Linked DNA regions of Homo sapiens: all the other regions are linked to region 1. Evidence: promoter capture Hi-C in human tissues and cell types (Jung and others, 2019). All regions are on one chromosome and are shown on one strand. The core of a region is centred on a gene start or on the middle of the fragment in contact, and the rest is flanking DNA. Distances in the headings are between cores, read along the strand shown. Region 1 holds the start of NTRK2 (neurotrophic receptor tyrosine kinase 2). Region 2 overlaps NTRK2 (neurotrophic receptor tyrosine kinase 2). Region 3 overlaps NTRK2 (neurotrophic receptor tyrosine kinase 2).

Evidence for each region. The method cuts DNA at HindIII sites, captures the fragments that hold promoters and counts their contacts. A contact is called where the count stands out against the background at its distance.
Region 2: a contact is called between a fragment that was not itself captured here and the fragment with the promoter of NTRK2 in region 1, in 1 of the 25 tissues and cell types used here (dorsolateral prefrontal cortex).
Region 3: a fragment that was not itself captured here is called in contact with the fragment with the promoter of NTRK2 in region 1 in 1 of the 25 tissues and cell types used here (dorsolateral prefrontal cortex).

What each region holds. Positions count from the first base shown.
Region 1 is chr9:84,668,179-84,671,656 of GRCh38, forward strand. NTRK2 (neurotrophic receptor tyrosine kinase 2) reads left to right here and starts at 1,551. Exons shown (of 19, transcript NM_006180.6): 1 at 1,551-1,710; 2 at 2,199-2,782. The coding sequence starts at 2,571. RefSeq lists a silencer at 76-295. The HindIII fragment of the contact is 14,152 bases long and covers 1-3,478 here.
Region 2 is chr9:84,999,861-85,003,338 of GRCh38, forward strand. The region is part of intron 17 of NTRK2 (neurotrophic receptor tyrosine kinase 2); the gene reads left to right. Among named protein-coding and RNA genes, the nearest start is that of NTRK2, 330 kb to the left of the region's middle. The HindIII fragment of the contact is 3,088 bases long and covers 327-3,414 here.
Region 3 is chr9:84,928,916-84,932,393 of GRCh38, forward strand. All of the region lies in intron 14 of NTRK2 (neurotrophic receptor tyrosine kinase 2), which reads left to right. Among named protein-coding and RNA genes, the nearest start is that of NTRK2, 260 kb to the left of the region's middle. The HindIII fragment of the contact is 3,950 bases long and covers 1-3,478 here.

The DNA.
Region 1 (3,478 bases), core at 301-2,800:
CCAAACTCTGCGGGTAGATCAGTGACTATTACTATATTTTGAACGAGACTCCAACCCATTGCTCTCTCGAGAGAGAAGGATTGCCCGCCTTTTTCCCCCGGGCAGGAGCTCGGCGAGGCCAGGAGAGCCGCGCACCGGCCGGGCAGGGACGCGCAGGCGTCGGGCGCCGCTGGTTGCGCATCTGGCGCCAGAGCGCGCCCCCAGCGCTGTGCCCGCCGCGACCCGGGCCATGGGCTGGTGCTCCGGAGCGTGCCGGGCGCTCTCTCCCCGCGCGGGGGCACCAGAGCCCTCGGAAGTGTCAGGCACTGCGGTGTATTTTCCCCGTTCTCTTTTAAATGACTGCGGAAAAACAGATTCCGAGCCGCAAAAGGGAAGACGGATTCTCAGACAAGGCTTGCAAATGCCCCGCAGCCATCATTTAACTGCACCCGCAGAATAGTTACGGTTTGTCACCCGACCCTCCCGGATCGCCTAATTTGTCCCTAGTGAGACCCCGAGGCTCTGCCCGCGCCTGGCTTCTTCGTAGCTGGATGCATATCGTGCTCCGGGCAGCGCGGGCGCAGGGCACGCGTTCGCGCACACCCTAGCACACATGAACACGCGCAAGGTACGGCAGGGGAGCAAGGGCTTGGGATGCCCTACGTGGGGGTGGGCATCGCGGGGAGTGAATCCACGATCTGGGAATGGCTACATCCCGTCAGGTTAAAGGATGAGAGAAAATGACGCGGCGCCACACATCGGACAGGCCAGGGTGGCCACCGAGCATTTAGAATACGCATCAGGCGCGCTCCCTTCCCCTCACATGTCTCTATTTCCCGGGCGTGTGATGGCAGAAAACGGCAGGAAAAAGACCCACTTAGAGAGCTAGAATTGTGTTTGGAGACTCCCTTCCCTCTGCAAAAGCACCAACAGGAAGCCCCTCCAAAACCACCGATCCCCAAATAGGTGGCCCGGAATGGGGGCGGTGATCCTTGGTTACCAATGCAGAACACGTTTTGGTGTTTACAACATTTATTTATTTTTAGGATAGCTTGCCCTCCCTTTTAGGCAGGGTGGGAAAGGAGAACGCGGGGAGGGAGAAGGGAGGGAGGATTCCTATAATAAGAATCAGCGCATTTTTCAGAGCTGAACCAAGCACGGTTTCCATTTCAAAAAGGGAGACAGCCTCTACCGCGATTGTAGAAGAGACTGTGGTGTGAATTAGGGACCGGGAGGCGTCGAACGGAGGAACGGTTCATCTTAGAGGTACCTGGATGTAAATGCACACACACACACAGACACACACACGCACGCGCGTGCATGTCTACACGGCCAGGATGTGTGCGTGTGTGCGCGCGTGTGTGAACTCCCACATGCTGCTGCTGTCTGCTTCTGGCCAGTGGCACCGATGCCTCCCTCCTCCCTGCTCGCCCCCAGATTCCCCTCCCCTCCCTGGTGCTTTTGTCTGGAGGGTGTTATGGGTTTGTGTGTGTATGAGCGTGTGTGTGTTTTTGGATTTCAGACTAATTTTCTGGAGTTTCTGCCCCTGCTCTGCGTCAGCCCTCACGTCACTTCGCCAGCAGTAGCAGAGGCGGCGGCGGCGGCTCCCGGAATTGGGTTGGAGCAGGAGCCTCGCTGGCTGCTTCGCTCGCGCTCTACGCGCTCAGTCCCCGGCGGTAGCAGGAGCCTGGACCCAGGCGCCGCCGGCGGGCGTGAGGCGCCGGAGCCCGGGTGAGCAGCGCAGATAGTGCCCTCGGTCGCCTCGGCCCTCACTGTCTCCCCCTGGGGCGGCCTCGGCTACTCCCCAGGTGGGACGTGCCGCGCCACCTGCCCGCGCCACCGGCACCCAGCGGCCGTGGCGGATTCTGCAGCATCATTCGGGGGCCCCGTCGCGGAGCCAAAGCCGCCGGCAGTCTCCGCATTCCCCTTTAAAGGGTCCTTCGCCCGGCCTGTACCATGGAATCCTGTCTTGGGGACCCTTTCCCTACCTCCCCTCCCTTGGCCTCAGGCTCGAAGAGAGAGTGGGCACACTGGTGGCTCCAGCGGCGTCAGTGCCATCGCGGGGCAAGTTGATTCCTGGGCCGGAGCTGGGCACTCATCCATCCACAGTCTCCGGGCTGGGGTCGGGGTGGGGATGACGCGAGCAGAGAGGGAGAGTGCCCCAATTAGTGGTGTTGGGGGTCCTACGCTCAGTCTTACGCGTGTCTGTTTGTCCTCAGCCTCGAGGTGCATACCGGACCCCCATTCGCATCTAACAAGGAATCTGCGCCCCAGAGAGTCCCGGGAGCGCCGCCGGTCGGTGCCCGGCGCGCCGGGCCATGCAGCGACGGCCGCCGCGGAGCTCCGAGCAGCGGTAGCGCCCCCCTGTAAAGCGGTTCGCTATGCCGGGGCCACTGTGAACCCTGCCGCCTGCCGGAACACTCTTCGCTCCGGACCAGCTCAGCCTCTGATAAGCTGGACTCGGCACGCCCGCAACAAGCACCGAGGAGTTAAGAGAGCCGCAAGCGCAGGGAAGGCCTCCCCGCACGGGTGGGGGAAAGCGGCCGGTGCAGCGCGGGGACAGGCACTCGGGCTGGCACTGGCTGCTAGGGATGTCGTCCTGGATAAGGTGGCATGGACCCGCCATGGCGCGGCTCTGGGGCTTCTGCTGGCTGGTTGTGGGCTTCTGGAGGGCCGCTTTCGCCTGTCCCACGTCCTGCAAATGCAGTGCCTCTCGGATCTGGTGCAGCGACCCTTCTCCTGGCATCGTGGCATTTCCGAGATTGGAGCCTAACAGTGTAGATCCTGAGAACATCACCGAAATGTGAGTTCCTGGAGCTTTTCCTCCTTTTTCTCCTTGCCCCTAGGGCCCGAGCTGGCCAGGTGGGTAGGTCCTGGAAGTGAATGCTGTCCCAAGAGTGGGGAGAAGTCAAAGACAAGGGATGCAGGACAGGGTCATCTGTCAGTTACCTGCTGTTTCACTGGCTTGGGACTGCTAGTGCAGGGAGAAGTGTGACACTTTAGAATAAGTTTCAAATATAGATATACATATGCCGATTATATATTTATTCCTCGTGGGAAGGAACTCACTATGCTTTTTATATTTCAAAGCTCTGCTGGGTGTGCTTTAGGCTTTCAGTATGCACTAACTTAGTTTTGGGCATTTTTGTTTCATAAAGTGCTGTGTGTATGTTGTGTTAGAAGTTCCATTAATATTCACTAGAAAAGAGGTTAAAATAATTAACTTTCCCAAATCTGTTGAGGGAAGTGACAGTCTCTCCCTTAACATCTTTTTTGAGATTTAAGTTAACCAATTTCCCTTTTCATTTTATATATCGGATTTTGCTTAGGAGATGGCATCCAGAGATGGCCTTGAAAATGATCTGTAAGAGGAGAAGTTCTGAGTGTTGAAATGCACTCGCTCAAAAGAAAAAAATATGATAGTTGGAAGCCTAAAAGCCTGGTCTAATTTAATTTGGACTTGACTTCCCAGAGATATGATTTTGAGACCACTTGGATT
Region 2 (3,478 bases), core at 621-3,120, 330 kb after region 1:
CCTCCAAGCCACACTTTCATGTCCTCTGCTCAGGTTCGCAGTTTCTACAGAACAGCCTCCCCAGCCCAGCAAATGATGGCGAAAGCACAGCGAGGAGAGGACAGGGCTGGCTACCTCCCTTCCTGAATTTTTAAATGGCACGAATGGAAGCTGTCTTGCATTCTAAGAGAGGAACCCGAGACACAGCCTCGGGTCACATCCCACGTCCTCATTGCAGCACATCTTAAAAACAGTTTCAGAGCAATTTTAGGTTTATAGCAAAGTGGAACAGAAAGTGGAGTTCACATATACCCCCTGCCCCTCACATGTACAGCCTCCCCCACTGTTAACATCCTGCACCAGAGCGGTGCATTTGTTACAGTCAGTGAACCTGCACTGACACATCATTATCACCCAGAGTCCATAGCTTACATTAAGGTTCACTCTTGATGTGCTTTCTATGGGTTTTGACAAACGTATAATGACATGTATCCAGCATTGTAGTATTACACAGAATAGTTTCACTGCCCTAAAAATCCTCCGTGTGTCTCCTATTCATCCTTCCCTATCCCCTAGCCACTGGAAACCACTGATCTTTTTTTACTGTCTCCGTCGTTCTGGCTTTTCCAGAATGTCATGCAATTGGAATCATACTTGATTCCAACTATATGACATTATGTAGCCTTTTCAGGTTGGCTTCTTTTTACTTAATAATAGGCATTTAAAGTACCTCCATGTCTTTTCATGGCTTAATAACTCATATCTTTTTAGTTCTAAATAATATTATATTGTATAGATGTACTGCAGTTTATCCATTCGCCTACTGAAGGACATCTTAGCTGCTTCCGAATTTTGGCAATTATGAATAAAGCGGGTGTAGACATTCATGTGCAGGTTTCTGTGGACATAAGTTTTCAATTCCTTTTGGGTAAATACCATGGAGCATGACTACTGGGTCATATGGTAAGAGAATGTTTAGCTTTGTAAGACACTGCCAAATTGTCTTCCAAAATGGCTGTATCATTTTGCATTCCAACCAGTAATAAATGAGAGTTCCTGTTGCTCCACATCCTCATCAACATTTGATGTTGTCAGTGTTCTGGATTTTAGCCATTCTAATAGGCGTGATAGGTGTGTAGTGGTACACATTACAGCATTTTGGGGGCCAGTATGGTCACCACTTAATCGCATCTCAGGTAGATTCCAAGACTTTCAGTTCACTTTTAGTTATGAAACAATTGAGTCTAGTTTAAAACTTTATTCTTACATCAGATTCAAAGCTTCCCCATCTGGTGTCACAGCCTGGAATTCTCCCCTCTCCCTCTTCTGGTGCTAGTTCTTCCTGTTTGGTTAGGGCCTGGAGGAGGGACTGAGGATGGAGAATATACATCTGGTTACTTCTCAGTTGTCATTCTCTTTTCTGTTGTCACTATTTCTCCATGGGTCACCCTTGGGCAGCCAGAGTACAGACAAAAAGGCTAAAAGTAGACATTTTCCACAGTGCCCACTTATTCTTGAAAGACTCACATGTCTTTGCCTTTTCAGATGATGGGCAAGCGATCTCTGCCACTGGTCCTCTCAGCTCCACCATCTTTGTCCGTCCCTTTGTGCTTCCTTTGCAGTACACACAAGCCTGTTGTCTAAACAGAAGCTCAAATGCACAATGAGGTCCCAGCACCCCTTCTTACAGCATCCCCAATCTTTATGAGGAATTCTCTTGAAGCCCTTATTTGGTTTCAGGTTGGGGATGGGGTAGCAGAGAGAGGGAGAAAGGATGAGAGTTAATTACCTGTCTTCTGGAACATTCTATCAAAAGACCAATGGCTCCATATCTCTTGCTCACTCCTGCTCCCAGTTCTTTCCCCACACAGACTGAGAGAGGAGAAGGATCTAAGGTAGTGGGCCATTATAGGGCCCGTGCCATAATTGGGGCAGAAGTTGGATCCAGCTGTGAGATGCTGCGCTGGCCCCTGACTGACACAGAGCCTTCTCTAGAACAGGTAGTAAACACAACTCCTTTTTCCTCACCTGAAGGCCAGAATTTCTGAATAGGGCAGGGAGGGGACAATTGAAAACGCCCCCCTAGTATCCTATTATGGAGCATCAGAGGTATGCGGGGAAGGGGACTTCACAGCTGTCCTCATCTGAATATTCAAACAGTTAATGACCTAATGGCCATTCATGACAGAAAATCTGATTGCAGCAAACAGGAAATCTCCCTGCTAATACTCACCCCTGCCTGTTCTTGACCTTACCTTGGTTACTGGTAGTCAGGCACTATTCCCCTTGCAGTACTGCCTCATTACTTGGAAGGTGGTTTTTAGCCACACCTTTGCCTGCTTCCCTCCAGTTAAGCACAAGCTTACCCCCTACTGCCCTGGGTGATAGAAATGCAAAGCAAGCCTGTTGACAATTTCTGAAGACCCCAAGAGGATGACTATCAGAATGAGGCCAGTTCTAACTGACTGAGTTTTCATTAGTGAAGATCATGAAATGCCTGGCCCATGAAGGCTCGAGGTTTGCATCTGGTGTGAGCTCACATGCGTGGATGCAGAAGCTTCCCAGGTGCTGTGGGTGTCTCTTGGCGGCATTTTACTTTATAATGCTCAGTTTGGGTTCCTCTTCTGCTGAACCTAATTTTTTCACTCCAGGGGTAACCACTTTTTCCACTTTCAAATAATGGTGCAACTTCAGTGATTTAATTTAGAGAGGTGATGAAGTGACCGTTCAAGTGTTCAGCAAATGGATAAAAGCCTTTCACAAATTCCTCAAAAATAAACACTCTCATCTTCTGAAAGGTTTACTAAATACACACTGTAAAGAACTAGCCATCAGCATATATACTTCTTGTTATTCGATGGTTGCAGTATTATGTTTTATTCAAGTTTGGTTACATGGATATGGAAAGGTAAAGTCTGACCCCTGAAGCAAAGAGGATGGTCATTCTGCAAGTAGGGCAGGGACAGCAGGAACAGAGAAGAATCTCACCATGTCTTGACCATGAAGGTCTCAAGATGTCTAGGAATGCATTTCTGGGGGTGGATAGGGTTGTCTACAAATGGTGCCCCCAACATCAGGCCAGGTCAGGCCAGGCTAGGAGGTGAGGGGCTCCAGTAGGTGGCCTGCTGAGTTGGAGAAACAGTTGGGGGACGGAGCTGAGTGAGCTTGGTGAATCAGCCCCGAGAGAGCCTACTAGAAGGCTGGACTCTGTGCAACACAATATTTCTCTTTATTGTGTCCTTAGTGTTTATTGTCCTATGGTTTTCCTTTAGAGTTTAGCAAAGCCATTCAGCTCACCTTGAGCTGTGCTAAGGTGAAACATGAAAAGCTTCATTTGTGAGATCATTAAAAAGGGATGCAGTGCATTCCTGGAGGCCAGCATGGAGGAAGCAGTCATAATTAAAGTGAGACAAAAACAAATGGGAGGAGAAAAAGTGTGGAGGGTGAAAATTTCACTCCTTCATCTATTTCAACAACTGTTTATACCGCTGCTCAGCAC
Region 3 (3,478 bases), core at 626-3,125, 260 kb after region 1:
TCATATATTAGATACTGAATAAATGTCTCTGTTGAAAGTCCATATGTTTAGTGGAATAAGTCCACTGGGCCAAGAGTATCTATGAAACCCCATTATTGAGGAAATGGGAAAGGCACATTTCCTGAGACCTTAAATGAATAAAGTTATATTTATTTTTTATTAGTTTTAGATTTCATAGCAATGGGTATAGACATAGAGTAATACTTTATCTATTGCCTGTGTGTATATATGGAATATGTACTTCTGGGAGGAATCTATACCAGAATTTGATTTAAGCAATCTGAAACTACAAGCATCTATGTCAGCTGCTGAAGACACATTGCGACACAATGCATTTTTCAGGACTCTAATGTGATACGAACACAGAGCTGGAAGTCAGTTCACTTCTGGCACTCATGGGACAAATGACCAAGGGCACCACATTTCCATTCTGAAAAATTCCATCAGTGACAGGGTTGCCCAGACAGGGTGCAGATCACACGAGTTTGGTGGTGTATTTCCTATAGCTCTTATTTGATTCCTCCTTTTCCTTTGGCAGGGTGAATTTTACACAGAAATTTTTCTATAAAACTCTTTTTTTTAAATTAAGTGATTGTTTTGAGTTTTCCTTCAAATCTAGGAAGTCATTCATGGTAGAGTTTGGTTCCTTTTTTTTTTTTTAAATTTGAGAGAGTCTCATTCTGTTGCCCAGGCTGGAGTGCAGTGGCACGATCCCTGCTCACTGCAACCTCTGCCTCCCGGATTCAAACAATTCTCCTGCCTCAGTCTCCCGGGTAGCTGGGATTACAGGTGCATGCCACCATGTCCGTTTAATTTTTGTAGTTTTAATAGAGACAGGGTTTCACCACGTTGGCCAGGCTGGTCTCAAACTCCTGACCTCAAGTGATCAGCCCACCTCGGCCTCCCAAAGTGCTGGGATTACAGGTGTGAGCCACCACACCCAGCCTCTTATTTATTTCTTATTACAGTTGCTTATGTTGGGTTTAAGGTGATTTGCTCAAGTCTCCAAAGTTAAGAGCAGCAGATTGGCTGATCACAGAGAAAGGAAGCATGTGAGAATTTTGCATGCTTATGTGATAGCTTATTTATCATGGAATCCTTAGGCATGCTTCACTCAGGATATTTTGTGTAAAGTGAATCAAAAATGTCCACAGAGCCCTTCAAGATACTGATATTCAAAGTCTTAGACCACAATGAGATAGGAGTTTGTCCAGAATGTGAATCAGGGCATTGCTTCCTTCATTACAAAAGTCTTACTCTCAGGAAAAGTTAGCCTAATGTCACACAATCAGCCAAACTAAACCTTTGGATGTCTGGCCTCTTAGCTCCACTGCTGAAAGCTGGAGGAGAAATGGCAGCCCAGTGTTGTTACAGCTTAGGCAGGTTACTGAGCCTTTCTGAGCTCGGCCCCTGAGAAGGAAGGCACTGGTAGGGTGGAGAGGGAAAATGTGGGCCCAGAGCTCAGTGGGTGAGAGGAGCAACCGAGATGTCAGCAGAGGTGGTGCAGGGTAATGGCTCCCTAAGATAGAAGCTTCAAGACAGCTGGGGCTCTAGCACGAGGGAGAGGGAGTAAAGGATCAGAAATCAGGTGTGTAAGCCCTGAAGTACCAGGGGATGAGGGATAGAGATGGCGTCCAATTGAGAGGCTTGGGCATCCTTGGTGCATTGCCGAGGTTTTATTTAAATCAGGGAGGTAAAGGGATGTTTAAGGAGAGTTGAGGAAATAAGGAGCTTGTGGAGTCACAGGCAGTGAGCTCAGAGTACACCGTGGAGGGGTGTCCAGGGGAGCTGAAGGGGCATAAGCGATCCACATTGGGAGGATAGTGTCTGGATAACTAGAGACTTCCTGTGGTGTTGTAGGGAAATGGAAAATGGGCAAGTTGGGATGAGTTTTGATGCCTTCTTAAAGGAGAATGGGAAGACGTTCTTAGCTCAATGACAGGAAAGCTTCAGATTAGATGTTCTTCCCACTGCTGCCATCCCAGAGAATAGAGCTATTTTATCACCTACAGGCTTAGAAGAGTTGACCTCAATTAACTCAAATAACATAGTCAAGTAGTACTTGTCTGTGGTTATCATTATTAAACATATTTTTTCACAGATATTTATAAATCACCAATTGTATGCACAGCACTGTGAGGCCCTGTCAGGAATACAAATACAAAATTCCTGTGCCCCTAAGTAGCTCAGTCTTAAAAAAGAGAAATTTGGCCAGGCACGGTGGCTCACACCTGTAATCCCAGCACTTTGGGAGGCCAAGGTGGGTGGATCACGAGGTCAGGAGTTTAAGATCAGCCTGGCCAATATGGTGAAACCCCATCTCTACTAAAAATACAAAAACATTAGCCAGGTGTGGTGGCACACACCTGTAGTCTCAGCTACTCAGGAGGCTGAGGCAGAAGAATTGCTTGAACCTGGGAGGCGGAGGTTGCAGTGAGCCGAGATTGTTCCACTGCACTCCAGCCTGGGCGACAGAGCGAGACTCTGTCTCAAAAAAAAAAAGAGAGAGAGAGAGAGAGAGAGAAATTTATTCCATTTAGAGAGAATACATTGGCAAAAGGACACTGCTCAGATTATCGGTGCCCCAAAACATAACAAAGCAGATAAATGCAAATATAGTAGCCCATTTCCTAAAGAAAAGATGCAGCTCTCCTGCTTTCAAGGTCAACGTGGAAAAACTGCTTTAATCAATTTTAGTTTTGGAAATAATGAAATTGTGGCTTTGGCCTTAAAAACTTATTTTCCACCAAATTTTTCTCCTGCTTGGACTGCGAAAAGAAAGAAGGTATGTAATAAAATGCAAAAAAAAAAAAAACAAAAAAAACCAACGTTAAATACTTGCCTTGCTCTGGTTAGAGTGAGAAGTAAATCAAGTGGGAATTTAATTCCCAATGAACATGTGACAACCAGGGAGTTAAATATTAGATTTAAATAGGGCAGCTAATTATCTGCAAGAATTACATTTGTGTCTTTATATGGGCACTCTCCCTAATGAACACATTTCTCTCCTCTTAAATTCAGTCGTTGTCACTGGAGCATGAGAAATTAATATACGTTCTTATATTCATCAATATTGTTGCTCATAAAAAGACCTTTTGATTTTTATCACCCTGAGTTCCCAGAGGCTCACAAAAGCATTCATAGCTCTGAACCACATGAATTATCGGGGGGAAAGAAAAATCCCATTAAATCAAAATCTTAATTACCACTTGCATTTTCTATAAAGTTGTGTCCAAAAAGAAACCAAGCAGGCTGTCCATCAACATAGAATGGATAAATACATGGTGGTACAGTCCTTCCACAGAATATTATACAGTGGTATAAGGGAAATAATTCATACTACACACACAATACAGCCCAATCTCAAGGACACCGTTGAGAGAGAGATTCAAGATCTGCAAGAATTCGTACTGTATAACTCCATTTAATGTAGGTTCAGAAACAGGTGAAGCTGAACAAGCTCTGGGAGATAAGTAGG